Regions from separate parts of the Homo sapiens genome. Here region 2 is linked to region 1. The links are contacts of gene promoters, found by promoter capture Hi-C in blood cells and fetal thymus (Javierre and others, 2016). All regions are on one chromosome and are shown on one strand. Each heading gives the region's core, a stretch centred on a gene start or on the middle of the fragment in contact. The rest is flanking DNA. Distances are from core to core; before and after follow the strand shown. Region 1 holds the start of CD38 (CD38 molecule). Region 2 holds the start of MED28 (mediator complex subunit 28).

What was found. The method cuts DNA at HindIII sites, captures the fragments that hold promoters and counts their contacts. A CHiCAGO score of 5 or more calls a contact.
Region 2: a contact is called between a fragment that was not itself captured here and the fragment with the promoter of CD38 in region 1, in 1 of 17 cell types (activated CD4 T cells). The highest score is 5.9, in activated CD4 T cells.

The regions. Positions count from the first base shown.
Region 1 is chr4:15,776,958-15,779,657 of GRCh38, reverse strand. It overlaps CD38 (CD38 molecule), which reads right to left and starts at 1,330. Exons shown (of 8, transcript NM_001775.4): 1 at 1,011-1,330. The coding sequence starts at 1,243. RefSeq lists silencers at 572-621, 812-861 and enhancers at 992-1,491, 903-1,545. The HindIII fragment of the contact is 6,782 bases long and covers 1-2,700 here.
Region 2 is chr4:17,614,601-17,617,300 of GRCh38, reverse strand. It overlaps MED28 (mediator complex subunit 28), which reads right to left and starts at 2,660. Exons shown (of 4, transcript NM_025205.5): 1 at 2,488-2,660. The coding sequence starts at 2,646. RefSeq lists enhancers at 2,511-2,620, 2,116-2,700. The HindIII fragment of the contact is 2,253 bases long and covers 317-2,569 here.

The DNA.
Region 1 (2,700 bases), core at 81-2,580:
TGGGAAGCCCAGGAGGCAAACATTTTGCAACCGGAACTGTTGAGTGTGCTCGGAGAGGCGAGGGAGGTCTATTTGCTCGTTTCCTCGGATTGCTTAAATGCGGGATTTTGCTATCCCAAAGCACAGAGTGTAAAGTAGCAGCTCCCCCTGCCTGCCTTCCCGGCTTCTTCTGTTTTACAAGCAACGATAATTTCCCGGTGAAAGCGAGGCCTGGGAATCAAATCCAAAAAGTGGTTGTTCCCTTTAGGAGAGGTTAGTAGCTGGAAAGGAGCATGAGAAAACTGGAAGGTCCCATAGACTAATGTGTTTTTTTTCCAAGGTTTGTACAGATTCACCGAGTTGCTGCGCCTTATCATCTAAGTAATGTCTCGGTTTTAGAAGTTGACATTGTTTTGTTAATTACTTCTCTGGTCACATGCATTTCAGGCCGCGCAAAAAGAATCGGAGTGCTGCTTTATATAAATGAATAAAACTAAGTTCCGTGGTTTGGCCCTTCTACACCCTCCTCCCCTACCACAGGCTTTGCAAACCACTTAAGTGTCCTCTGTAACCGTCCGGGGGCACTTTCGGGTCAGAGACAGCGGGCGGAAACCGCAGAAAAAGTTGAAAATGTCAGCGACACCCTGCATCTGCGAGTTCTATTCCGTCCCTGAAGCGGTGAAGCGGGCTGAGCGCGCCGAGGGTGGGCTGCAGCCCGGCGAGGGGCTGGGCTCAGGGCACCTTGCCCAGAAGGCGGGCATCGGTGCCAAGTGTTCACCGGCTACGCAGCAGAGCCACCGAGCAGCGCCCCCCCCCGCCTCCCGCGGGCACGCTCGGTGCCAAGGCCAGCTGCTCCTGAAAGCGGCCCGCGGAGCCCCGAGCCCGGGACTCCCTACTCAGCACCACCCGGCGGGCTCTCGGCTGACCCGCCACGGAAGATGCCCGGTTCCGGGCGATCCGGGCGGCTTCCCTGCGCGCGGGGCCCTGCTGTCCCCGCAGTGCCCACCGGTGCGCCTTAGTCGCCAACCCACCTCATCTCAGGATGAATTTCAGTGTACTTGACGCATCGCGCCAGGACGGTCTCGGGAAAGCGCTTGGTGGTGCCCGGACCGCTCCACTGCTGGCGCCACCTCGGGACGACCACCGCGAGCACCACGACGAGGATCAGGACCAGGATACTGACGCCAAGACAGAGTTGGGCTCTCCTAGAGAGCCGGCAGCAGGGTTTGTCCCCGGACACCGGGCTGAACTCGCAGTTGGCCATAGGGCTCCAGGCGGGGTTGGCTGGGCGAAGATGAGGCCGGCAGGAGGCTAGGCAGCAAGAGAGAGGCTGGCTGGGTTCTGAAACTGCACCTCCCCTTCTGTTTCACTTGCCTTTTCTCTGTTTCCCTTCCCACCCCCAACCCCTTGCCTCAGAGTTCCGTGGCTGGTTACACCAATAAGAGTTTAAAAGACCAACAACTATAGGCTCCTGTGCAGTGACCCACCCACTCCACCTCCAGGGAGAAACAGCCACCTTAATCCTCTGCAGGTGTCCTAAGGGGGCAGACAGTACATCCTTATACTCCCTCCGCTAACTCCCTTCATCAACCGGGCACTTTACACCTGAGCCACATTTGCTTCCTGGAAAGCATGAGGGTGGGCTGCCTGCTTCTATACGTGTGTGCACACAATGCCCTCTGCCTGGAAAAGGATGTCCTACCTCTCTTTCTTAACTCTGACAAATGCCTGGTCAACCACCTTTAAAGACTCAACTTAAGTCTGACTCCTTCTCTCAAGAGGCATCAGTGGCTAAGCTCTGGGTTCAAATTTAGTTCTTGCTGGATGACATGGGGCAAGTTACTTAACCTCTCTGTACTTCAGATGTAAAGCCGGGATAGTAGCAGTACCTACTTCATGGGATTGTTACGAGGATTAAGTGAGTTAATATCTACAACGTGTTTAGCACAATACCTGGCACATGGTAATCACCCAGTAAATGTAAGTTGTTACTACCAGCTCTAGGAGCTGCTCAGAGATGCAATTTTATAGTCCATGGAATGTGTTTGAAGCAGGGTCTGGCACACAGTAATAATACTGCACTCTATGCGGGAGTTTAATAAATAATAAAGTGGCTTTTCTTGCCTCTTCTTTATTAAGAGAACATCTGTGACATTCAAGCAGAGACCTAAGTAATGTGAGCGATCAAGTCACCCAACTCCCTTGGGGCAAACATTTCCCAAGCAGAGGAAATGGCAGGTGCAAAGACTCTGAGGCAGAAAAGCTCTTGGCCTGTTCCAGAGCAGCAAGGAGGCCAATTGTAGTTAGGCTAGAGGGTTGAGGGAAACAGAACAGAAGTTCGGAAAGTAGCAGGAGACCAGATCACCCATAGCTCTGTAAGACAGGATGACTTTTTGGACTGTGTGTTTTATTTATTTTTTATCTTTTTTATTTTGTTTTAAGTTCTGGGATACATGTACAGGACGTGCAGAGTTGTTACATAGGTAAATGTGTGCCATGGTGGTTTGCTGCACCTATCAATCCATTGCTTAGGTATTAAGCCCCTCATGTTTTAGCTATTCTTTCTGATGCTCTCCCTCCCTCCACTCTCCCCAACAGGCCCCAGTGTGTGTTGTTCCCCTCCCTGTGTTCATTGTTCAGCTCCCACTTATAAGTGAGAACATGCAGTGCTTGGTTTTCTGTTCCTGTGTTAGTTTGCTGAGGATAATGGCTTCCAGCTCC
Region 2 (2,700 bases), core at 194-2,693, 1.8 Mb before region 1:
TGGAGGCTGTGAAAATTGAGGTCCACACAGAACACAAGGAAGGAAACAGGAAAAGTTCCAAAGAAAATGTGGCCTTTGAATTGAATCGTGAGACAAGACTAGACAGATCGTGATCACCCAGCAGCAGAGAGGATCCAGCTCGCACCACTCCCACTCCCCTTCACCTGGCTAAGTCAAAATGCTTCTTTGGCTTTCCTGCTCTCTGGGAAGCCTTCTTTGATGTCCACACCTATATGTGCTCCCACAGTACCCCAGGTTTCTTCTATCAGAGCAGTGATCCTACAACAAGGCAACTGCCTGCCGTTTATTACAAGCTTCCTGAAGGCAGGGACTGGTTTTCTCTGTATTCTCTGTATGGATAATCAAGTCCCAGAGGGAGTTCTCTCTCAAGGGCACCTACAGACATATATGTGAATCAGGCAAGGAGTTCTGTGCACAAGCCAACTACACTACAGGCTCCACACTACAGATTCCTTCAATGTCTGACAAATATTCATCTAGCACTTGCTATCTACTACCACTGTATTAGCACTACAGGTTACACAATGTGAGGGGTGGGGGTACAAAACAGGTAGTCTCTGACTTCATGGAGCCGAATTTAATGGTAAGTATTAAAAAGAAGGCCAGGGAAGGGTCCACTGAGGAAGTGATGCAGTGAGCTGAGGAGCGGCCTGGAAGCCCAAAGAGAAAACAAATGGTACACGTGGGAAAGTCTTGTGTGGCTGCAGTAAGGAAACGAGTCTGAAGGAGAGAACGCAACATGCAAAGCCTGGGAGACCACACTAAACATCTTGATCTTATCTCAAGGGCAACAAGCAGCCACTGTACGTTTTTAAGCAGCAGGGTGCTGGGAGTCAACTTTGGCTAAGACTTGTACAGGGCCAGTCTTTCAGCAAGTGCCCATGACTGAGAGCCAGCTCCCCTCAAGCACAATGCTAGATGCTGCTCTAAAGTTCACCAGCCCCTTCCTTTACCACTTAGCACCACCTCAAAGGTGTCTCCTCCTCCTCCTCCTAAACGGTCTGTCCTTTAAATCATTTATTTCTGGCTAGGCGCAGTGGCTCACGCCTGTAATCCCAGCACTTTGGGAGGCCGAGGCGGGTGGATCACGAGGTCAGGAGTTCGAGACCAGCCTGGCCAAGATAGTGAAGCCCTGTCTCTACTAAAAAATAAAAAAAATAGCATGGTGGCAGGTGCCTGTAATCCCAGCAACTCGGGAGGCTGAGGCAGGAAAATCGCTTGAACCCGGGAGGCGGAGGTTGCAGTAAGCCGAAATTGCGCCACTGTACTCCAGCCTGGGCGAGAGAGTGAGACTCCATCTCAAATCATTTATTTCTAAATCTTTGTACATCCGTGTGGTAAAAGCATTTTGTCCATGCAGTCTGAATAATCGCTTGCAAATTATATTCATTTACCACTGTGCTATTAGATACAATACAAAAGTCACAAAGTTGGGATTTTTATTTATTTATATTTTATTTTACTTTTTTGAGACGGAGTCGAGCTCTTGTCACCCACGCTGGAGTGCAATGGCGCGGTCTCCGCTCACTGCAACCTCCGCATCCCAGGTTCAAGCGATTCTCCTGCCTCAGCCTCTCGAGTACCTGGGATTACAGGCGCACGCCACCACGCCTGGCTAATTTTTGTATTTTTAGTAGAGTCAGGGTTTCACCATGTTGGTCAGGCTGGTCTCGAACTCCTGACCTCATGATCCGCCAGCCTCGGCCTCCCAAAGTGCTGGGATTACAGGCGTGAGCCACCGCGCCCGGCAAAACTGGGATTTAAAATGTGGAAAAGTTAACTCCAATTTGAACGTACATTACTTTATTACTACACAGGAATAGCTCATCTTCCACTTTAAAGACTACTGGAAATCACCAGAGCACTTATTTTCACCTCTCTATCTTCCCTCAATATACAGTTCACCTTTCTTGCTACAAGGTAAACTCCTTGGGCAAAACTGAGAGATTGGGTCACCTGTGCCTCCCTCCCTCCCTAACCTCCAGCATTCCTCCTTCCTCAGCTCTTAGTACCAAGCTGCGCCTGGTAACTTAAGTCAATTTCCGCTCTTAAGAGTCCCTTTAGGATCGTTTAAAGGTGAAGCCCAGCGGAAAGGATACAGGATACAGCAGTGAAACTCTCAGCTCCGAAAAGGCTTGAGCCTCTTACTAAACATGCAGGGATGCAAGAAACGGTGCTCGGGGATGAGACTAAGGACCGGCTGGGAATCTGGAAGGGTTCCAAGTTTGGGGTTTAGGCAAACTTCGGGTTCACGTTTCCACAAACGTCGAGTTTACGCGCCCCCGCCAGCAGACCTGAATTGAATACGGGCCACGGGGAAGCCTAAAGCAAGTGACTTACTTTAAGCCTCAGTTTCCCCATTTGTGAATTAGTTGCTCGGATCCCTGGAGGAGATACGCGTACGCGCAGTTCACGTTTCAGAAAAAAGGGAAGGCTAGGGACAAAGACGCCCATGTCTTATATTACCTCGAAAGATGACTCCAACTCGTCCACCAAAGTACTGCTGGAAGGTCTAGGAGCGCCTGGAGCTGCCTGAAGAAGCGAAGCTTGGCCCGGAAGGCCCGGCGGGGCCTGAGGGGGACCGGGTGGCTGCCCAGAAAACATACCCCCTAGTGGAGCCGCCATGTTTGGAATGGCGCAAGAGAGATCCACTGCGCCTGCGCGGAAGCCGGCTCAGAA